Regions from separate parts of the Homo sapiens genome. Here all the other regions are linked to region 4. The links are contacts of gene promoters, found by promoter capture Hi-C in human tissues and cell types (Jung and others, 2019). All regions are on one chromosome and are shown on one strand. Each heading gives the region's core, a stretch centred on a gene start or on the middle of the fragment in contact. The rest is flanking DNA. Distances are from core to core; before and after follow the strand shown. Region 1 has its middle 80 kb from the start of SIRLNT. Region 2 has its middle 170 kb from the start of SIRLNT. Region 3 overlaps ZMAT4 (zinc finger matrin-type 4). Region 4 holds the start of ZMAT4 (zinc finger matrin-type 4).

What was found. Contacts are between HindIII fragments. The study calls those that stand out against the background at their distance.
Region 1: a contact is called between a fragment that was not itself captured here and the fragment with the promoter of ZMAT4 in region 4, in 2 of the 25 tissues and cell types used here (dorsolateral prefrontal cortex and heart left ventricle).
Region 2: a contact is called between a fragment that was not itself captured here and the fragment with the promoter of ZMAT4 in region 4, in 2 of the 25 tissues and cell types used here (mesendoderm cells and thymus).
Region 3: a fragment that was not itself captured here is called in contact with the fragment with the promoter of ZMAT4 in region 4 in 2 of the 25 tissues and cell types used here (dorsolateral prefrontal cortex and mesenchymal stem cells).

The regions. Positions count from the first base shown.
Region 1 is chr8:40,420,616-40,426,322 of GRCh38, forward strand. No RefSeq gene overlaps it. Among named protein-coding and RNA genes, the nearest start is that of SIRLNT, 80 kb to the left of the region's middle. The HindIII fragment of the contact is 4,372 bases long and covers 1,558-5,707 here.
Region 2 is chr8:40,509,384-40,515,181 of GRCh38, forward strand. No RefSeq gene overlaps it. Among named protein-coding and RNA genes, the nearest start is that of SIRLNT, 170 kb to the left of the region's middle. The HindIII fragment of the contact is 3,002 bases long and covers 20-3,021 here.
Region 3 is chr8:40,561,537-40,568,069 of GRCh38, forward strand. The region is part of intron 6 of ZMAT4 (zinc finger matrin-type 4); the gene reads right to left. Among named protein-coding and RNA genes, the nearest start is that of SIRLNT, 220 kb to the left of the region's middle. The HindIII fragment of the contact is 4,700 bases long and covers 1-4,552 here.
Region 4 is chr8:40,896,498-40,902,604 of GRCh38, forward strand. ZMAT4 (zinc finger matrin-type 4) reads right to left here and starts at 1,329. Exons shown (of 7, transcript NM_024645.3): 1 at 1,186-1,329. The HindIII fragment of the contact is 9,161 bases long and covers 1-6,107 here.

The sequences.
Region 1 (5,707 bases), core at 2,494-4,993, 470 kb before region 4:
CCTGACATGGAGCGACCTCGATAAATGTCGGCACTTATTATTGGATTGGTAGCAGTATATGACCTTACTTTTGAATGAGGTTGCATATGCTGTGGTTCTGCTGGTCCTCACTGAGCATCCCACATTTTTCTGTCCTGCACAGATCTGGGATCTCATTTCTTTAAAAACATATTAGGGCCCATAGAAAGAGAAATGCTTATGCACTGTTGTAGGAATATAAATGAATACAACTCCTTTGGAAAACAATATGGAGATTTTGTAACAAAACTGCAGATAGAACTAGCATTTCATCCAGCAACCTCACTACTGGTATGTAGCCAAAGGAAAATAAAACATTTGTATCAAAAAGATATCTGCCTGTGTATATTTATCATAGCACTATTCACAATAGCAAATATATGGAATTAACTGAAACATCCATCAGTGGGTGATTGGATAAAGAAAATATGGTACCTATACACACTGGAACACTATTCAGCCATAAGGAAGAGTGAAATTATGTACTTTGCAGCAACATGAATGGAACTGGAGGCAATTATCTCAAGTGAAACAACTCAGAAACAGAAAGACAAATATTACATGATCTCACTTATAAGTGGGTGCTGATTAATGTATACACATGGACATAGAGTGTGGAATGATAGATACTGGAGACTCTAGAGGGTGGGAGATGGGTGAGGGGTGAGAAATGACTTAATAAGTACAATGTACATTACTTCGGTGATGGTTACATTAAAACCCAGACTTCACCATTGTGCGTCATATCTATGTAACAAAACTGCCCGTGTACCCTTAAATTTATACAAACAAAAATACTTTAGGACCTTCATTACTTATTGGTTTAAAGGTTATCTTTCTCTCTTTCTTTCTTTCTTTTTTTTTTTTTTTTTTTTGAGAAAAAATCTTACTTTGTTGCCCAGGCTGGAGTGCAGTGGCACTATCTTGGCTCACTACAACATTTGCCTCCCAGGTTCAAGTGATTCTCGTGCCTTGGCCTCCTGAGTATCTGGGATTACAGGCATGCACCACCATGCCCAGCTGATTTTTGTGTTTTTAGTAGAGACAGGGTTTTACCATGTTGGCCAGGCTGGTCTTGAACTCCTGACCTCAAGCAATCCACCTGCTTCGGCCTCCCGACGTGCTGGGATTACAGGCGTGAGCCACTGCGCCCAGCCTGCTTAAAAGTTTACAATGGAATAAGTAAACCAAGTTCTCTTTAAAAGCAAGATTTCATTAAGGAAAATGCAGCTATAGCACTTGATCATAATATTAAAATTATTTATTGACTTCTCTGTCTCCCCCAGTAGAAGCAGGTCTCTATGAGCATAAGGACCATATTTTACATGGCTTCTTCTCTTGCTATCTGACCTCCTGTGTGCTTCATAATAAGAACAGAATAAGCATTTGTTGGAGAGAAATTGAGATTATTTGACAACAGAAACAAAACTATATGAAACAGCTCTTTGGCTATCATTTAGTAGCTTTTACATTACATGTTTCATGCAATTTCTCACAGTACAGTCAGGTAGATTTTGCCCTCTAATAGCCAACATCCAGTAGTTGGGAGATATAGAATAAACAAAATTAGTAGTCTATATAGGAAACTTCCAGCACCCAGCCTGGAGTGAAGTATGATTAGATTTAAGTGTGAGGAAAGGCAGAAAATGCCAGCAGTACACTTGCTAGATAGGGGGTGGTTATTTTTAAAGATGACATTAATTTTGTAACCCAAGGTTTTATTTCTTCCTTTAGAGGTAGTATATTGAGTGATTAAAACACACGGACTCTGGGAATAGATTTCTGGACTCTTCTGGCACTGGTACTTACTAGCTACACAACCTTGGATGAGTTATCTAGTTATCCAAGTTCCTTAGAACACAGAGCATAAGGCAGAGATTATGTGCTCACCTCACTAGCGAGTGCAATCCCAGTGAAAATGAGTAAAGGAAAGGGGAAGTGAGGCAGAAAAAGGGGAGAACAATTGTAAGAAAGTACAGAACTGGGCTAATCACAGCTGCACGACAAGCTGATTTCTCAATATCTTCAAAGACGTGAAACTACTTCCTAAGTTTAGGAAATAGGAGTTCAACTGCCGATTCATATTTTTCATTGATCAAAGTTTACCATTACTGTGAGTTAATTTCCCTAAACTTCTAGTGTTTCCATGCATGGGAAATGAGTGAGTGCCATTGCGGACCACAGGGAGCCCCAGGCAGGGGCTGAGAGACAGGTGGCTCATGTGGAAGGTGGATACCGTAAGCCTGGTAGGCTGGTTTTTGTTTTTTTTGCTTTTGTTTTTTTTGTTTTTTTTTTTTTTTTTTTTAGACAAGGTCTCACTCTGTCGCCCAGGCTCAAGTGCAGTGGTGCAATCACAGCTCACTGCAGCCTCCCCAGCCTCTGGTGATCCTCCCACCTCAGCTTCCCGAGTAGCTGGGACTGCAAGCGTGCATCATCATGCCCGGCTAACTTTTATTATTTTTGTAGAGGTGGGGCTTCGCCATGCTTCTCAGGCTAGTCTTGAACTCCTGGGTTCAGACGATCCTCTAGCCTCAGCCTCTCAAAGTGCTGGGATTACAGGCATGAGCCACTGTGCCTCGCTGACACTGTCAGGTTGTGTTTATAAGCAACAGCAGGGCTGAGCCATTGACCTATAGGAGCAGAAACAACAGCATCAGGAGCCCTGATCCATGATGCTGAGGATGATGAAGGACATCGCTAGACTGGCTCTGGCCAGACGGGCCCTGGATCTACAGTGATGCATAGACTGAATCCAGTGTATCATCTGACCTCTCTGTGCCTTTGTTTCCTCAACTTCAGTATGGAAAAAATAATCACTCATCTACCTCCCAGGCTATTGTGAGGACTGAACAAGTTAATATATGCAAGGTGCTTAGGAAAATTCTTCACACTCAGGAAACATTGCAGAAATGTTAGCTCTCGGTAGTGTTAGAAAAGTCATGACAGTTATTGTATGTATTCAATTCCAACGTTCCTTGCAGCCCATTTTTATCTTTTTTGTTTCCTCTTAGGAATATATTGAAAGGTGGAGTCGTGAGGGCTACTTTGGTGCTAAATGATGTCTCAAGCATGAAAGTCCCCTCATGCTCTGTGCTTTGTCAGTTGATGTGATGTTCATGGAGGAGACAGAGACAAAGCAAGTCCTTCCAAATAGCCTCTGAACTCATCTCCACCTTGGCTCCAAGGCGTGCTTAGGGAGAAGTCACCAAATCCCCCAAGTTCATATCATGGTAGCTACATCCATCGGCTTGACTGGATATCCTTCCCTGGAATCACTGTTGTTCAGAAAAGTATCTACTGGAAATTCAAAGACAGAGCTTCAGCTGTAGCAAGGGCTTAACACAGAGCTTGCATACTTGGTGGCTTCCTAGAAAAATCCAGCTTGAGGAGGTGTTCTGTTTGGATGTCAGAATGTTAGCAACAATATTTTAATTGAACTTTCAGTAGTGTAGTAATGATTCCCCTAACAACGCTGTAGAATAGGCCACCAAGGAGCTGCTGTTTCTGCTGCAATCAGTAGAAGCCAAGATTTAAATGTGTTGAAACCAACATTTAAAATTATCCTATCTTTCATAAAAATCCTTTTTTAAAAAAATCAGAAGATTGGATAAACCTGAGCCTGAATTTCTACATGGCAATAATTAGCTGGCACCAAACAGTGACTTTCCACTTCAAACGGGACAGGTTTGCAGTTTTCATCACTCTATATTGTCTTACCCAGCCTATTTCTCTCATTTATATTACTTCTTATTGCAGACATTTCAATTTTGAACCCTGAGCCTAAAGCTTTCTAGGCTGAGATGGCCATTTATCATAGAAACATAAGCTCTCAGACTTTAAAGTTACTTTCTTTTTATTTTCTTTCTTTCTCTCTCTTTTTTTTTTTCTTTGAGACAAGGTCTGTCTCTGTTGCCCAAGCTGGAATGCAGTGGGTGCAATCATAGCTCACCGCAGCCCTATACTCCTGAGTTAAAGTGATTCTCCTACTTCAGCCTCCTGAGCAGCTAAGGCTACAGACACACACCACCATACCCAGCAAATTTTTGTAGTATTATTATTATTATTTTGTAGAGACAGTGTCTTGCTGTGTTACCCAGGCTGGTCTCAAACTCCTGGGCTCAAGCCATCATCCTGCCTTGGCCTCCCAAAGTGCTGGGATTACAGGCATGAGCCACCGCACCTGGCCTTAAAGATACTTTAAAGATGATCAGGTTCCAATTACTGTGGCTTCACCTCCACTCCCTAAACTGGTCATTGATTATTTGTTTGGTCTGACTTTTCAAACTGGAATTGGTTTTTGTTTTTATTAATATTGACATACATTAAAAAAAAAACAGGCATAGAGAAAGAAGAAGAAAAATGACAAATTATGACAAATTATATATCAGAGAGCACTAGAAATGTTGGTGCATATGTGTGGTGGGTGTGGCAGATTGACTCCCTAAACTCCATTCAAATTCCCATAGCATCTTATACTTCACTTTAGAAGCTGGACATGTAAAGGGTGCATTTCTCAGGCTCCCTCAAACCTCAACTTTCCCATATGATCCATCAGCCCCCAAGCCAAAGCACAGTGTGAAGTCTGGACGGTGGAAATGAGATGGAGTTTGTGTTTGTGCTGCATCTGCAGTTCCCCCTGACAAGCAGCATAGATGTTTAATCGGTAAGGCTGCAGTACAGGGCCCATGTTGTGTTCAGCCCATGACATGCACAAAGCGCCTGTGTTGCTGGTGCAACCTTAGTTGAAGAAGTGCAGCTTGAGCTAGCGGTGGCTGCACAGCTTGGGGCTGTGACTGATGATTGTGGCAGCTCCTTCATGGCCTGACCTACAGTGTTGTTCAGGGAGTCACTACTGGAAGCTCAGCCTAATGTCTGATCCTTAAGCTTTTCAATGATTTTGCAAACACTTAATTTCCTGTGTCAAATCCCTCTGTGCCGAAAATAGTTGAATGGATTCTGTTATGTTCAACTGAACCCTGACTAAGAGTACATTCTCCCAACTTTCACTATGCATGTTTTTATAAAAGTAGACTGCTTTTTCATGTAACAAATAACGTAAGCCTCACTTTTTAATTAAACTTCCACAAGTGGAGATAATTTTTATTCCACATTCAGTTGTAACAAAGAATACAGAGAGATTGCATGTATCTTTTACCTACCTTTACCCATGGTAACATCTTAGAAAACTAAAGTACAATATCAGAATCAGGATATTGAGGTCATTACAATCTACTGATTTTATTCTGATGTTCCGTGTTTTATTTACATGCGTGTGTGTGTATGTGTGTGTATAGTCCTATGCAATTTTAGCACATATGTAGATTCACGTACCCACCACCACACTCAAGAAACAGTTCCAGCCCCACAAAGATCCCTCAGGCTGCCCTTCTATAACCTTGCCTACCTCCCTCTCAATCCCCTCCCCCATCACTAACCTGCACAACCCCTAATCTATTCTCCAGTTCTGTATCATTGTCATTTCAAGAATGTTGCATAAATATGATTATACAGTATGGAACTGCTGTGGTTTGAATATTTGTGTCCCCCTCCCCAAATTTATATGTTGAAATCAAATTCCCAATGCAACAGTATTAAGAGATGGGGTCTTCAGGAGGTGATGGGGTCATGAAGGCAGAGCCCTCATGAATGGAGTTAGTTTCCTTATAAAAGAGGCCTGAGGGAGCTTATT
Region 2 (5,798 bases), core at 271-2,770, 390 kb before region 4:
TTCTTAATCCTGAGTTCTAATTTGATTGCACTGTGGTCTGAGAGACAGTTTGTTATGATTTCCATTCTTTTGCATTTGATGAAGAGTGTTTTACTTTCAATTATGTGGTCGATCTTAGAATAAGTGCTATGTGGTGCTGAGAAGAATGTATATTCTGTTGATTTGGAGTGGAGAGTTCTGTAGATGTCTATTAGGTCTGCTTGGTCCAGAGCTGAGTTCAATTACTGGATATCCTTGTTAATTTTCTGTCTCATTGATCTGTCCAATATTGACAGTGGGATATTAAAGTCTCCCACTATTATTGTGTGGGAGTCTAAATCTCTTTGTAGGTCTATAAGAACTTGCTTTATGTATCTGGGTGCTCCTGTGTTGGGTGCATATATATTTGGGATAGTTAGCTCTTCTTGTTGCATTGATCCCTTTACCATTATGTAATGCCCTTCTTTGTCTTGTTAGATCTTTGTTGGTTTAACGTCTGTTTTAACAGAGACTAGGATTACAACCCCTGCTTTTTTATTTTTGCTTTCCATTTGCTTGGTAAATCTTCCTCCATCCCTTTATTTAGAGCCTATGTGTGTCTTTGCATGTGAGATGACTTTCCTGAATATGTGTGTCTTTGCATGTGAGATGAATTTCCTGAATACAGCACACTGATGGGTCTTGACTCTTTATCCAATTTGCCAGTCTGTGCCTTTTAATTGGGGGCATTTAGCCCATTTACATTTAAGGTTAATACTGTTATGTGTGAATTTGATCCTGTCATTATGATGCTAGCTGGTTATTTTGCCCATTAGTTGATGCAGTTTCTTCATAGTGTCAATGGTCTTTACATTTTGCTTTGTTTTTGCAGTGGCTGGTACCATTTTTTCCTTTCCATATTTAGTGCTTCCTTCAGGAGCTCTTGTAAGGCAGGCCTGGTGGTGACAAAATCCCTTAGCATTTGCTTGTCTTTGAAGGATTTTATTTCTCCTTCCCTTATGAAGCTTAGTTTGGCTGGAAATGAAATTCTGGCTTGAAAATTCTTTTCTTTAAGAATGTTGAATATTGGTCCCCACTTTCTTCTGGCTTGTAGGCTTTCTTCTTTTATTTATTTATTTTTTTGAGGTGGAGTCCCGCTCTGTCGTCCAGGCTGGAGTGCAGTGGCGTGATCTCGGCTCACTGCAAACTCTGCCTCCCAGGTTCACGCCATTCTCCTTCCTCAGCCTTCCTAGTAGCTGGGACTACAGGCGCCCGCCACCACACCCAGCTAATTTTTTACATTTTTAGTAGAGACAGGATTTCACCACATTAGCCAGGATGGTCTCGATCTCCTGACCTGGTGATCTGCCTGCCTCCGCCTCCCAAAGTGCTGAGATTACAGGTGTGAGCCACCACACCCAGCCCTGGCTTGTAGGTTTTCTGCAGAGAGATCCGCTGTTAGTCTGATGAGCTTCCCTTTGTGGGTAACCCAACCTTTCTCTCTGGCTGCCCTTAACATGTTTTTCCTTCATTTCAACCTTGGTGAATCTGATGATTATGTGTCTTGGGGTTGCTCTTCTCTAGGAGTATCTTTGTGGTGTTCTCTGTATTTCCTGAATTTGAATATTGGCCTGTCTTGCTAGGTTGGGGAAGTTCTCCTGGATAATATCTTGAAATGTGTTTTCCAACTTGATTCCTTTATCCCCGTCACTTTCAGGTACACCAATCAAATGTAGGTATGGTCTTTTCACACAGTCCCATATTTCTTGGAGGCTTTGTTTGTTCCTTTAGATTCTTTTTTCTCTAATCTTGTCTTCATGTTTTATTTCATTGAGTTGATCTGCAATCTCTGATATCCTTTCATCCACTTGATTGATTTGGCTGTTGTTACTTGCATATGTTTCATGAAGGTCTCGTTCTGTGTTTTTCAGCTCCATCAGTTCACTTATGTTCTTCACTAAACTGTTTATTCTAGTTAGCAATTCCTCTAACCTTTTATCAAGGTCCTTAGCTTTCTTGCATTGTCTTAGAACATGCTCCTTTAGCTTGAAGGAATTTGTTATTACCTACCTTATGAAGCCTATTTCTGTCCATTTGTTCAACTCATTCTTCATCCAGTTTTGTTCTCTTGCTGGCAAGGAGTTGTGATCTTTTGGAGGAGAAGAGGTATTCTGGTTTTTGGCATGAATTTTCAGCCTTTTTGCTCTGGTTTTTCCTCATCTTCGTGGATTTATCTTCCTTTGGTCTCTGCCGTTGGTGACCTTCGGATGGAGTTTTTGCATGGTCGTCCTTTTTGTTGATGTTGATGCTATTGCTTTCTGTTTGTTAGTTTTCCTTCTAACAGTCAGGCTCCTCTGCTGCAGGTCTGCTGGAGTTTGCTGGGGTTCCACTCCTGACCCTGTTTGCCTAGGTATCACCAGCGGAGGCAGCAGAACAGAAAAGATTGCTGCCTGCTCCTTCCTCTGGAAGCTTTGTCCCAGAGGGGCACCCACCAAATGTCAGCTGGAGTTCTCCTCTATGACGTGTCTGTTGACCCCTGCTGGGAGGTGTCTTCCCGTCAGGAGGCACAGGGGTCAGGGACCCACTTAAGGAGGCAGTCTGTCGCTTAGCAGAGCTCCAGTGCTGTGCTGGGAGATCTGCTGCTCTCTTCAGAGCCAGCAAGCAGGAACATTTAAGTCTGCTGAAGCTGCAGCTACAGCCGCCCCTTTCCCCAGGTGCTCTGTCCCAGGGAGATGGGAGTTTTATCTATAAGCCCCTGACTGGGGCTGCTGTCTTTCTTTCAGAGATGCCCTACCCAGAGAGGAGGACTCTAGAGAAGCAGTCTGGCTACAGAGGCTTTGTGGAGCTGTGGTGGGCTCTGCCTAGTCTGAACTTCCTAGTGGCTTTGTTTACACTGTGAGGGGAAAACTGCCTACTTAAGCCTCAGTGATGGCAGACTCTCCTCCCCCAACCAAGCTGGAGCCTCCCAGGTTGATTTCAGACTGCTGTGCTAGCAGTGAGAATTTCAAGTCAGTGGATCTTAGCTTGCTGGGCTCTGTGGGGATGGGATCTGCTGAGCTAGACCACTTGGCTCGCTGGCTTCAGCCTCCTTTCCAGGGGAGTGAACAGTTCTGTCTCACTGGTGTTCCAGGTGCCACTGGGGTATGAAAAAAACCTCCTGCAGCTAGCTCAGTGTCTGCCCAAATGGCTGCCCAGTTTTGAAACCCAGGGCCCTGGTGGCGTAGGCACCAGAGGGAAGCTCCTTGTCTGCAGGCTGTGAAGACTGTGGGAAAAGTGTAGTGTCTGGGCCAGTGTGCTCCATTCTTCATGGCACAATCCTTCACAGCTTCCCTTGGCTAGGGGATGGAGTTCCCTGACCCTTTGTGCTTCCTGGGCGAGGCAACGCCCCACCCTGCTTCAGCTTGTTCTCCATGGGCTGCACCCACTGTCTAACCAGTCCCAATGAGATAAGCCAGGTACCTCAGTTGGAAATGCAGAAATCACCCACCTTCTGCATTGATCTCACTGGGAGCTGCAGACTGGAGCTGTTCCTATTTGGCCATCTTGTCCAGGAATGGTTCCACAACTGTATTTTGAAAGAGGAATTATTATTCTTAAATTATAGATGAGGAAATAAGACATCTGGTCTTAGATCTTAGATGACTGCACAGAGGTGAAGCTTTGGAAATGCAAATGGCAGATAAGAAAAAGCATGGGCTGAGCTGGTGTCATTCTTTAAATTCTGTCAAAAAGAAAAGAATTGGCAGGAATAAAGTTAAGAGCTGGCCTTCGTTCAGATGGCTGTTAGGGAGAATTCCCTCCCTTCCTCCAAATTCCATGGTGGAATGGTAACAGAGATTCTCAGGATGCCCAGGAGACCCAGGATATGGTGTGGTGGAGGGCGGGGTTAGGCAGCTAGAGCTCAGCATATGCCCACAGGAAGAGTGTTTATGTGGGGAAGGAGGAATGGCTGGGAGTTGATGGAGGGGAATTGCTGTTCTAACCTCCTACCTTCTCACTGGTTCCAGGACAGGGCCCAGCTCTGTTCATGAGAACAATTCCAGGGATACTCAAGTAGCCAAGCACTGGCAGCATTCTGGGTACCTCCTAGTACCAGTTGGTGGGCTCCTGGCCCCAGCCAGGGCAGTGTGAGACAGCTTTGCACACTCTTTGAACAGCTAACAAATAGCTCAGGGCCAATTTTTTGCTGGGTACAACTCAGCTACTAAAACTTTCCTGCTTCCTGACTTTTAAATAGTAATTTGCAGAGGGATAAGTAGGGATACACACAAGAAAAAAGAGCGTCTGATGAGGTTGCCACCAAAATATGCAGTCTTTTGCTCATACAATGTAGCCCAGGCATGATCTTTGTTGGTTCTGTTAGTTGAATTGTTACATTTGAACTTAGTATTGAAGTGTTTCACAAATATCATAAAACTCAGCAGGCCCAATAAATACCAGAGGAGAAGGTGTGGAATACACCAACACAAAGGGATGTTTTATTAGGATTAAAAAAAGTTAACTCAGAAAAAATAATTAAAAGTGGATATTTTTGGCATGACAGATACTTCGTGTGCTTATGGAAATGAACCATTGGACTGTTGCAATGATTCTGGAGGTCAGAGAAAATTGTGCAACATGCAAAGCATGCAGTATGGCAGCAATGACCAGGAAAATTTATGAATAAGAAAAGGACCAAATGGAGCTCAGGAGATGGGTGGGAGTTTTTGCAGGACTCAGCGAAATGGAATGGCTACATTCCGTGAGCCCATGGTAGTACGTTGGTTGAAAGACAATGTGAATGGAATAGCTCACCTGTTACATTTCTAGGATCTTCAGTATTTTTACAGTGTGTACAAACTGCTGTACTTCATAAAAAGAAAGTCTGATATAATGTGCAGGTAAGCAAGAAGAAGTATCTACTGATATATTTGTGAAAGGGTACTCTCACCTTCTTTTGGAAATATAAACTGAGGTTGCCGGTTAAACCATCATTGGTTAAGGATAACAAACATTTTGGAGACTAGTATATTCTTTGGGGGTTTTTTTGTGGGGGAGGGGTGGGGAGGGCTTGGGTCATGAGTTCTCAAACCTTAGGGACACATAAAGCATTCTCGGGGCCTGACTCAGGTAGAGGGATGCTGAGCTGTGATATGAGCCCTTTGTCACCTAGACCCCAACTCGAGTTTGAGAAGAACCAAGTATCATATTTACAAAGTGAACTTACAACCCAGAGTCTGGCCCTAATCCTGCACTTGCAGCTGGGACTTCAGGCAAGTTATCTACCTTTCTTTGACTCCTTTTAGTCAGCTATAAAATGGTACACTCCAAGGACATCGGAATCTGAAGAGAGCAGTGATGTTGCAAGGGTCTGTCCTTAGAGAAGGACGTTTGGGGAGCTGGTTCCACTCTGGGCGCCCCTGTTCTAGGTGGGGCTTGCTTTTTCTATTTGGCTCAGCCTCTTGGCACTGCCAATAAAGTTATGACTTTGTTCTTTTTATTTTTTTTGTACATGCCTGTGAATAAGACTTTCGTTCTCTCTGATTCATTTTTAAGAGACTCTGACCAAATTCAATAGGCATGTCTTAGTTATGATTTTGTTAATTACTTCTTACCATCTATCACTTGCATTACACATCTGATGGCCTTCATATTTCCAAGACAGCAATTACTTCAACAAATGGGTGGAAATAACCAGTTTTCTCCTTCTGCCTCTCATAGAAGTCATTTTCACTCACTTTTAGAGGAGGATTAATGAGGTCTAACTAATTTTCTTTTGCCAAAGTTACTATGATTAGCAGACTTTCCTCATTGAAGGAGTCCATGGATGATCTATAGCTTTCTACAAATGTATGAAGAAC
Region 3 (6,533 bases), core at 953-3,452, 330 kb before region 4:
CCCAGCTGGTGCTCAGGGTCTGAGTAGCACTTTCTCTTCCCCACCCAAAATCTCTCCTCCAACAGTCTGTCTTCCAGGCTCCAAGCACCAGCATTAGAGAGGGTGCTGAACCAGCTCTCACAAAGGCTCAGTGCAAGCTTGTTCAACCCCCAGCCCACAGGCTGCATGCGGCTCAGGATGGCTTTGAATGTGGCCCAATACAAATTCGTAAACTTTCTCAAAACATTATGAGAGTTTTTTGCAATTTTTTTAGCTCATCAGCTATCATTAGTGTTCGTGTATTTTATGTATGGCCCAAGACAATTTTTCTTCTTCCAATATGGCCCAGGGAAGCTAAAAGATTGGACACCCTTGGTAAGGTCTAATCCCTGTTATAAATCCATGTGTGAGTGTATGTCTGTGTGTAAGAGAGAAAAAGAGAGGGAGAGACAGACACACACCTCCTAGTGGTCTTGCTTCTCTGACTGAAGTCAGTCAGGTGCAATGCCTAGGGCACGGTTCTTTCTCTCTGCACCTTTCTCTACTTTGGACGATACGTCTTCTCCCTGGCTTTAACTTGTACCCATTTAGCTGACTTCAAAATGTCCATTCAAAGTCTGGTTCAAGTCTTCATATCAGGTCTGCTTTCCAAGAACCTGTAGGACATTCCTGCTCAGGCAAAACACCATTCCATCAAAAGCACTGTGTCTAAAACTTAACTCCCTCACTCCCGGCCAGATTCTGTCAGAATTTCTCCCATCTCCTAAGCTGAAGACAGGTAGGCACCTTAGGCCATCCTCTCAGAAATCCCATCATCAATGATTATCAGTGGTTCCTCAGAGTTCTAGGGATCAGCAGGGGCCAGGGAGGAAGTTCACTGGGTAGCACTTTTGACCCAACATGTCTAATTCCAAAAAAGACTACTTTTATGAAATTCCACCTGCTACTTATTTTAAAAGAGGGTTCTGCTGTTATAATTTGAGTTCTTATGCAAACCCCTTCCCCTATGCATAGCAAACAGCTACACATCACCCTCCATCCTCCTGGGTGCTGTCATCAATGGGGCTGCTGGGGCACTCTCCCTCATACAGGGGCACACTGGTAAGGAACTCCCCCTCTTTCTTTCTACCCCAGCCATTGTGGTAATCATGGTCTAGAAACTTCTACAAAACTCCCCAGGCAAACAATGACAACCCCTCCTGATTGACAAGCCATCTGTCAATCCTCTTTCTACTTGACTCTTTCTGGCATTTAATCAGTTTGTTCTACACCTTCCTTCTTGAAATGTTTTTTTCTCCCTTGACTTCTGAAGCACTAATCTGTCCTGTTCTCCTACTTAGAAAAGAAATACAAAATATATCATTATGAGAAAAAGTGTTGACTTCTCTTCCTTTGTCACGACGTGTGTGTGCACACATGTGTGCAGTGTAAACATATGTGTGTTTATTCCTCAAGTTCCTCTTACTGTACACACTCACCTTGAGTGAACTCATCTACTCCCATATCAGACACTTCAACCAGCTCCTGTGACCCTAAGCATCCTGAATCTGAATCTTCAGCCCTCATTTGTTTCTTGAACTCCAGAGCCATAAACCTCAATGCCCACCGGCATCTTCATCTGAATGTTCTTAGGCCCCTCAAACTCATTCCACCTCAAACTGAAATCATTCTCATTCCCCAGCCCAGGTTCATCTCATCCAGGCAGCTTTCTCTCATTACTCATGTCTGCATCATCTCTCCCTTCTCTCAAGTCCTTAAATGGTATATAAAGTCAGTCTCAAATATATTAGCATTTAAATGTTCTTTGATTATTTTCGTCTATTAATTTGGTCTCCTCAGTTAAACAATAGGTTTATTGCAGGCAGGAACCACACTGTTTGCTGGTGCTATATCCTTGCGGTATCTGACACTTAGCTAGACACAGAGTAAATACACAGAGCAGAACTGAATCTCTCTCAAGTATTAGGTCTCTAGCAAAAGTGGAACATGCTAGGAAACCATAAATATATCTGCTGTCTAAATCCAAAGGTAACAGATGCAATTCATCTTCTTTGAGCACTACTAGTAGAAGAAACAATTTTGAAATGAAAAAACAGATAAGAACATGAAATGTTCTGAACTAGACTTTAAAATTTGAATTACAATGATATCTTATGAAATTATTCCACATGCATGATTCTGCTTGACTTGATAAGGTATCTCTCTCCACCTCCAACTCTCTTTTTAGACCCATGAATTTTGTGACAGAGGGTAAAGGATATGATTTATTTGACCACAGTGGCTCTGTCCTTAAAGGCAGCTGTTCCTTGACTCTGAAAACTAGTCCAGAAACTGGGGTGATGCTGGTAGGCTGTGAGGGAGCAGGAGGGCCTCTTAGTTTCCTCCAGCCCCTACCCTTGCTCCCCATGGCAGGTCTCCTACAGGGGAAACCAATGAGTTTCCACCCAGTGGCTGAGGAAAGGGATGTCCTTTCACTTTCTCATCCCAGGCTCCCTCGGATTGTCAGAGACCACACATCTAATCTCCACCAGCCTTTTCTGAATAAATATGATCATGAAATTACTTATTTTTGGTCTGTCCTCCAAAAAGAGAAAATACGTGAATGAGGTCAAGTAGTTCCAGAATACTTGAAATATTTGCTTTATGAACACTAAGCTGGAGAACGCAAAGAAATCCTCATGGACAAACTTACCATGGTAAGGGAGTCCAGGAATGTGTTCATGTAGGAGACAATATTTAACTCACTGAGTTTTGTATTGATCACTTCTCTTTTTATAAGTCGAGAGTATATTGAAGCAGGTGTTATTTCTACAGGATTGCCCAACCCTGGACCCTAAAAGGCCAAGATTTTCATTGCTGATGCCAGCTTCCTCTTTCTGCCTTCTCTCCCCCTGTCAATGACACTCTATATTTCAGTCTCGGGCCACCCCCCTCTAAACTCACAGATAAGATTTTAGTATTTGTCATTTGCACATCTCACTGTGCAATTATCCCTGCCTGCAAAGTAGACAAAAGTAAAGTTTTCCTCTGTGGAAAAAATGTTGACAGTTACCTAGCAGGTGTGTATAGGGGAGAACATATCACTTTGAGAAAAGGAAGCAATTTATTGAAATCACATCATAAGGCAGGGCCACTGTTGCAGCCTGTTCCACTGTCTCATGGGAATGGAGAAATTACTCACATTAGTAGAGTACATTTTGGAATGATATTCATGATATTCATTGATTTTAGTCATTCAAATTATGTGTTGGCTTCAACCCTAATTAAACAGTTGAGAAAAGAAAGACCATTAATTGTTGAGCATCCATTGTGGGCACAGGATGAGATATTTTAATCAGAAGACACAGGAATAATCTTACTTCAAGGTTAAAAGAAAAATTACCTGCACGGATAGTAAAAAATCTGCTTTAGAACATTAAAGCAGTTCTTGTTAACAAAATCTGACATCCAGTCTTACTCTTTTATCTGTACACTGTCTTATTGGAGCTGCTCATTTGCTACCAATTCCTTAAATGACACTAGAGCAAGTGTTATTAGGGAGAAAGAATAATCAAAGTAATTTTCAACAGAGATTGGACAGATTGATGTCTCTAATCATCATTCTTTGATCACAAATGTCATTTGCTCTTAACATAAGTTTTAAACCCTGGTTTCTTCCCTTACTTAATAGCAATGAAATATTCTATCAGGTGTTACAAAATTCAAATCCTCATATATAAGTGATGAGGGCTTTTCAGAGAATGCCCAGAAAATATGAGTTTCTAAGTGACAAAAGTAATTTCCTTGGGTAAGTCCTTAGAAGTCAAAGCTTCTATATCAACTCATTCAACACAACAGCAAGTGCTGGTTTGGTGCCACCATCTTTTTTTTTTTTTTTTTTTTTTTGAGATGAAGTTTTGTTCTTGTTGCCCTGGCTGGAGTGCAGTGGGGCGATCACTGCAACCCCCGCCTCCCAGATTCAAGCAATTCTCCTGCCTAAGGCTCATGAGTAACTGGGGTTACAGACATCCGCCACCACGCCCAGCTAATTTTTTGTATTTTTAGTACAGATGGGATTTCACCATGTTGGCCAGGCTGGTCTCGAACTCCTGTCTTCAGGTGATCTACACTCCTCGGCCTACCAAAGTGCTGGGATTACATGTGTGAACCACCACGCCTGGTCATTGCCACCATCTTTTTCATATCTGACATCCCTCCTAGATCCTAAGCCTGCCTTCTTTCCCAACTCAGGTTCCAGGCTACCTTTTTTTTTTTTTTTAATAAGAGCTCCTCAGAGAACCTACATTGCCAGTGATAACTTGGGCTTGGAAGAACTGCAGGTCCATGTTGGTGCCCAGTCACCCAACACCACACTCCTGACAGCTGCTAATAGGACTCCAGGACCTTCACCACTGTGAAGGCCCCCAGCACTCTCTCCTGTGATTTCAATGAGTTCAAGAATTTGGGTGACTTTTCTGGAATCATAGCGCTTTAGGGTTTAGGCGTTTTAAAAATTACCTGAGCATTTTAAGGACAAGAAATCAATTTATTTACTTGTCATTTACTATGTGATTCAGAGCCTAGCACAGAGTGGGTGGGTCACTTAATAAATATTTGCTAAACTATTGACCAAATCAAGGAAAGTTCTGATGTTCCTCCGCCGTGACACACTATCTCACTGAAAACCTCCAGATCGTGAGTGAACCAGATTTCATCCACAGAAATAAACTCTCTAGATTCACTCCAGAAATATCACTTGCATGCTCCAAAAGGTTGACTAGTTATTTTATACTGGGTTTCTTTAGAGTAACTTGGAAATGAAAGCTGCCTCTCCAATGTGCACATAGAATGAAGAGCATTGCCCAGATCTTTTTTTAACTTGTGCTGATGTTTTCCGGACATGTGGGTGTGAGAGAACCTGACCTCCTTCCTATTACCTTTAGAAGGGGTGCAGCAGAGGGTGGTCATTCAATTTCCAGGCTGGGATGACTTTCTCAAATTACACTGTGACCTGATCTCTCCTTTCCATGGGAGGTGCATTTTTACTTTCAGGACTCTCACGGGATGTGGAATACAGAAATGATGACATCTGGTTCCAAGACTAAGAAATAGAAACCTGTATGACTTCCAAACCTTCTGGTATGGAGGATACTGAAAAATCTGAAGCTCCCCCCTACTCAGTTGCCTTGAATAGGAATTATACTGACCAAAAGCTAGATTTAAAATGAGAAACTTTAACATACCCAGTTAGACCCACCTACACAGAGACTTAAAGTGTCCATTCCAATACAGATACTAAGGGACAACTAGGTGCTAATTTAGTAAGCTATCTGGCCATGACATCTGAGTTATCTAGTAAGCTTATGTGATTTAGCAGTGGAAAGTTGTCAGAAAACAGAATGTATTATTTGAACTTTATCCATGTCCCAGGAAATAAAACCAGAGGTCTGAAACTCATCTATTTAAGGCATTTATAAGATCTTTTTGTTAGAATATAAATCAGTTCAGTGGTGATGGTTTTAGAAATCAAAAAGAGTAAAGTGCACATGTTATCCTGTTGGGTGTCTTTAGAAGGAAAGGCACTTACATAAGGAAGAGAAAAGACAGATATATCTCTGGAGAGTACAATAGCACCAGAGGCCGTAGATAGAACTTTGAACTAATTGTGTCCTAGAGCTTGAAATAACACCAACATTTCTGAAAGCGAACTTTATAGATTTTGATTTGTATTTGACTACTCGGCATGAAATGGACTGAGATTTTTCTGTTACTCTAAAAGCTAAAGAAAAATACATGGTTCCTATTTGCTGTTAAGGACTATTGCAGGTAATACATATTACTATTGATATTTATATAAGTTTATATTCTGAATGAGGTATAGATTCTGGTTACATCTGGCTATTCTTAACACAATATAGAATGGTCTAGATAACATTAACTCAAAAAAGAAGAAAAGCCAGGCATGGTGGCTCACTCCTGTAATCCCAGCACTCTGGGAGGCTCAAGCGGGCAGGTCACCTGAGGTCAGGAGTTCAAGACCAACCTCACCAACATGGTGAAACCCTGTCCCTACTAAAAATACAAAAATTAGCTACTCCAGAGGCTGAGGCAGGGGAATCACTTGAACCCCCCTGGGAGGCGGAGGTTGCAGTGAGCCAAGATCATGCCACTGCACTCCAGCCTGGGGGACAGAGCAAGACTGTCTCAAAAAAAAAAAAAAGAAAGAACAAAAAAAAACCCCAAAACTCTTTAAAATGTTTATCACTAAATAATTACCTAAATAACAGTGTTTAACACTTAAAGAGATGTCTCTGTCATGCATAGACATCATTTGTTTTTTGAAAAAATCCTTCCAACTCTGGAAAATATAGCATTTATCAAATGTCATCACTCAGATTTAATCAGTGAATATTGAGATTAGCCAGAATATACTATCAGTGGTAGCATAAAGATTCCTGAGTAGGCAGTGTATATATGTTTAATAATAAAATGAAAAATGCAAATGGGAAGAAAAATAACCTTCCTAAAATCAAAATGGTAAAGAAATTCCACGTAGAGAATCCCACAGACCACTG
Region 4 (6,107 bases), core at 79-2,578:
CCTTCGCAGAAGAGGAAGAAAGTTCGAGACCAAGCACATCGCCTGCTTCCCCATGGGTCCCTGCTTCCTAGTGACTCACCTACCTAATATCTCCCTTTAGCAGAAGCCAAAGGCGGAGGAGGCAGGGGGAGAAAGGAGTTTCCCAAGGGTCTCAGAGCAAGAGAGGCCCCTGAGGTCTCGCGATTTAGAATGCTCAAGGGTGCTTCTGGGCTGAACCAGCTGCCTGCCGGGGTGAGCTGTTTTACTTCAAGAGCAGTTAGCAGAAGCAGTGTGGATGGTGACTTCAGCACCACCTCTGCCACAAATGCACCTGTGCACCAAAACAACCTGCGCACCTACACGGAGCCACCCCCTCCACCAGCCTCCACCTCCCAGAGCTGCGGGGATGCTCCGGGCCAGGCACCCCTTCTGGGGACAAGGGTGTAAGCTTCACATGGTACCAAACCGAACTCTCTATCCCGTTTTTTGGCTTTTTCTTTTTTTTTTTTTTTCAGGATACCCCAAGCCTGGAAAGTCTTCCAGAGTTTTCGGGAGCTAATTAATTATGTGATTTCCTCTCCTCTGAGAACTGTTTTGCTGGCGTGTCACCAAGTTGTCACGTAGGTGCCCACCAGGTCAAACAGAATAGACCATCCTCACCCACCCACCCCGGGGAATGTCTCCTTCCACCAAATAAAATGAACTGAGACAGGCAGGAAGGAGGCAGAAGTTTGAGGAAGGACTCCAGTTGAAGGTCACAATAGTTTGGGGAAGGCAGATCAAGGTAATACGAAGGGGACAGACCCTATAGCGGAAAACACAAACAACCAATCACGTTTCTCTCGGAACCAGCCTATCCATGATGGGTGCACCAGGAAACAGCACACCCTGGGATCCAACTTCTTTCACCCAGCACACCCGAATCTCCACCCCAGCCCTGCAGACACCCTAGCCTGAGACCAGACCTATTTAGACAGACCTGAGCGCAGCTAATTAGGAGTAGTAAACAAGCCCATTTCTTGCCAGCGCAGAAGTTTCCCAAATTGTCCGCTTGTTTTCCTCCCAACAAAAGACAGTGATTTCCCACCTTTATCACATTCCCTCCCAGAAACTTTTCTTTCTGCAATCCCTCCACCTAGGCTAAACTGCAAAGCCACTGGCAATGGAGACGCAGGCGCTGCACCCCCGGGACGCAGGCAGAGGTACCTTTTCCGCGAGGCAGAGGGGCCGCCGGTGCCCAGAGGCCAGCTGCCCTGCCGAGCAGTAGAGCGAAGCTGTGGGCTGGAGCACGCTGAGGATTACACGTTCCTGTCTCTGCGACCAGACCTTTCGGCAGCTCGGACCAACTGTGCTAGCGATGCACTTAGCAATTATCTGCTGGCTCCGACGCCCCGCCCTCTGCTCTTGCGATTGGCTCTCCAGTCCCGGGCAGGACTGCATTGGTTTCAGCCGACCTCACTCATTGCTTTGGCTCCTACTATTATCTAAGCCATCAAAGGAAATAATTCCATGTTTCATTGACAACCTGTAAGGCTCTCCTCCAGCCCAATGTGGGGGCAGGACCGGGAGGCCAGTGGAGAGAGGGGAGAGGAGTAGGAAAATGTGGGGGAGCGGGGTGGGGGAAGGAGGTGGAGGGGAGAGGAAAAGAAGGAGAAACTGTGGGGGGGTAGGAGGGTAGGAGGGAGAGAGAGAGAGAGATGGAGCTATCAAGCAATCAGATTCTTGCTCTAGCATTTTAACTTCCACAAAACAGAGCCCATAGCAACAATTTTCTGGCTTTATTTTCCCCCTAACTGGTAAATGTTGCTGAGGGCAGAGAGAATAATAACTATGGGGTGTCTGCCGGCATGAGACAGACTCTAGAAAGCCGAGCAAGGTTGAGGGCTGAAGGGATGGAGTAATGCTTTTCACAGGGCCACCCTGGAGGACATGTGAAGGACATGGCAGATTGCTTGGGGAGCATAGTAGGTGCATACCTGGAGTTTATCTATCAGTACTTTATCTCACAGTCCCCCTCATCCCCCAACCTGAGGAGACAATTTTCCTTTGCACCCTGTCCAAAGAGTCTCAGAAGAGCTATTCTTAAAATCCATAAAACTCTGGAGTTTCTCACTGTTCTCACTGGGAGGTCCAGAAAGCCGAGCATTCTAGAGTGAATGATTCTGCTGGGACCCTCACTTTGGTTTATTCTGACATGGCTTAAATTAATCGCTTAGACTTTCATCAACAACCTACGCACGTGAAGAGAGAACATACCCATCAAAGGGTGGGGACAGCTTAAACACTTTTCCTTGTTCACCAAGAAATCATAAAGTCTCACCCTAGTTAAAATGGCTTTTATCCAAAAGACAGGCAATAACAAATGCTGGCAAGGATGTGAAGAAAAGAGAATGAACCCTCCTACATTGCTGGTGAGAATGTGAATTAATGCAGCCACTATGGAGAACAGTATTGGGGTTTGTCAGAAAACTAAATATAGAGCTACCATCTGATCCAGCAATCCCACTGCTAGGTATATACCCCCAAAAAAGAAATCAGTATCTTGAAGAGATTCCTGCACTGCCATGTTTATTGCAGCTCTGTTCACAATAGACAAGATCTGGAAGCAATGTAAGTGTCCATCAACAGATAAATTAGATGAAGAAAATGTGGTACATATGCGTAGTGGAGTACTATTCAGCCATAAAAAGGAATGAGATCCTGTCATTTACAACACCATGGATGGAACTGGAGGACATTCTGTTAAATGAAATAAAACAGGCATGGAAAGACAAACTTCACATGTTTTCATTCATTTGTGAGAGCTAAAAATTAAAACAATTGAACTCATGGACAGAGAGAATAGAATGATGGTTACCAGAGGCTAGGAAGGGGCGGGGGTGGAATGGTTACTAGGTACAAAAATAGAGTTAGATAGAATGAATAGGATCTGGTATTTGACAGCACAACAGGGTTATTACAGTCAGCAAAACATATTGTACATTTTAAAATAACTGAAAGAGTACAATTGGATTGTTTGTAACAAAAGGAAATGCTAAATGCTTGAGGTGCCAGATACCCCATTTACCCTAATGTGATTATTACACATTGCATGCCTGTATCAAAATATCTCGTGTACCCCATAAATATATACACCCACTATGTTCCCATAAAATTAAAAATTTTTAAAAATTAAGAAGAAATCATAAAGCACAAATTTTGACCTTCCCCTCTCCTTAATGTATTTGTCACCATATGGAAAAGACATCACTTGGCAGCTAAATTTTCTTAACTAGGTAAAATATTTATTATTAATGTTTCTAAAATGAAAGAGCTTTTATAAATCAATAAGTACAAGACCTATAACCCAATTCAAAAATGGCAAAGGACAAAATGGGCTGAATTTTTTAAGAGAGAATTATAAAAGCGTCTTTTAAAGAAAGCTTTTAAAATATCAAATTTCAGATGATCCAGAAACTAACCCTTCAGCCTTCTTATCCTAGGATCTCCATGTCTTTGGTGAGGCTCTGGTCCCAGTCCTGCCCTGGCCTCCCCTGGGGCCTTGAATGGCTGTAGTCCTTATCTTCAGCTGCGTCCTCTGCAGCAAATGGCAGGTGCCCCACTGCCTTGTATGGTGACTTTCTATTTCATGCATACATGCCTGGCTTCCCTAAATACATTTCAAGCCCTGTAAAGACAGAGATGGTATCATGCATATTTTTATCACTCCACAGATAGCACCTAGCACTCAATAAGTGGGCTGACTACTAAAACCCAATTCAAAGCATCCAGGGTGCACAGCCCTAAGCCTCATGCGACCCTCATTCCACTGCAACTACTCTTCCAGCAGAGCAGAGTGTGGAGGGGGCCCACTCTGGAGTCCAAGAGCTAAAAATTCAGGACTAACCACTGTGAAATGCCTGTGAAATGCGGCAGCTCCAGAGTCACTCGAAGCTCTCTGTGTTCTCTCTGGAAAATGAGGCAGGTCTTCACCCAGTACCTTCCTCCTCCCTCAAGCATTTGAAGGAAATGAAAGGATGTGGGATGCACATTTTACTTGTGAGGCATGACCTCAAAAAATGAAGTCCTTTCCATAATGGCTTTCCAAATATCAGCATGAGTAGGAGACAGTGACCGTATATTAGGAATTCAAAACTAGGGCAAGGGATGTAGCAAAATATTTGTTTTCTATTTCATTCCTTTGTCTAGGTGAAATCACACAAAGGCACAATAATGAAACTAAACTTAGCTATACATTTGAAATTGACACTGTCCTAGAAAATCTGGTGTGTTCAGTCATGGTGTAAAAACCATAAATAACACTTTTATTATTTAAGCAGTATGATTTTTACTTTCGAGTGAAAGTAGGCTTCAGCTTTGTGCCTTCATACTATCTCTTTTTCCACCCCCCTTAAGAAAATAAGAGAAATAAACTAAATTATAAGAACTCTCTTGAGTATCTATCAAAGGTTTAGTTGTCCCTGAAGGAAAGGGAAAACATTTCAAGTGATTTTCTAAAATGCTTTGTCTAAAACAGCATGTCCTTACATGTACTTTTTGCCTTTTGAAGATGAGAGAGAGAGAAAGAAAGAGAGCAAGCCTCAAACAGTTGTTTATGTCAGTGTCTTTTAAACTGCCTGGTCATAAAATATCCTCTTTGAGAGAAGGATTCTCCCTTTGTGTCCCATAGATCAACTGCTTAATTCTGAGAGTTAGAGAATGAATATTAAATATGCAGATTCCACTGGTACTTGCATTTGTATTAAATATCAGCTCCATACAATTTAAATTCACTGGGGTATGAAATGTACCAAATTCCATGTTGTGGGCCATACTCGGCAAAGCAGTCCATTTTGATTTAACAGTTTCAGGACATTAATGGTGGGAAAGACTTTTGGGGGTTCCTGTTCCATTTTGAGTAATTAGGGAAAGAATGTGGGTTTCTTTATTAAAACACAAATTAGACAGCAGCCGCCGGAACCTCCATCATTCTTGTGGGTAACCACTTGCTACAACAAATGACCATGACCTACCGTGGGAGGCTGGAGAAATCTTGCATTTACTTGTCCGTGTATGCCATTTTCTCAGTTATCATTTATTTATGCCAAATTCTGTTTCTAAAAGGGAGAAGAGGAGAATAAATCTAGGCAATGCCAAGAAAGAGGAAAATGTGTGAAAACAAGAGGAAAACAAAGGGGGTGACTTTCAACACTACATCTTTGCTTATTGACTTCAGCCCTACAATACCATTTCAATGAAAACATAATATTAGCAGGATTTCTTGAACCTAGCATTGGAAGAATGAAAGGTTGTTCAGAAAACTTCTCCCAGCACAGTCTCCTAAGTAGAGAAACTTGGAAGAACATTTTCATAGCTTTCTGTTCTAGCTGATAGCTGTTGTGAAATCAAACTCCCTCCCCCTCCACCCACACCCCCACTCCCACCATGAAAATCAAACCTGTGGAGCCAGTGACATTTTGACAAAGCGTAAGAGGAGACTGTGGCTGCCAGGAGGGTGTCAGTCAACATGAACCATTCTTAATGATTTCATTAATTATTAATGAGTCTTTAGAAAGTTGGTATTAGAATATACAGGCTTCATGAGGTTTGAAAACAGTAAGGATATTTTATTATTTAACATACCCTGATGAATAAAGCAGGTGATTTTGTTTCTTTAAATCACAATCACATTTATTAGTGAGCCAGAGTTGTAAATAATCTGAAAAAGAGAAAGAGGAAGACAGAGACAGGGACAGATGGAGAGGTAGAGAGAGACTTGCAAAGCTAGATTGCCCACCTAAATTCTGTTTTACTTCAGTTAAATTCTTCATAAGAAATATGCAGCTGAAAGATGTCATGAAATATTATCCAGCGATGCAACAATTGACAGGGGTAGGGGAGCTGAATTAAGAAGGTCAGCTTGCCTTCTGTGAGGCTGGCAGGCCATGTGTAGTGTGAAGCACCCTTCTAGAATAAAGGTCTGCACACATGGAGACAGCTGTTGGACCCCTGCCAGACAGGACCCACGTTCTAACATAGCTGCTTTCTTGAAAGAACCCATTGAACATGTGTTTACAACACCTGCCACACACCATTTCCTCATTTATAAAGCAGAGTGATCATTGTTTCTAAGGCTGTTGAGAGAATGA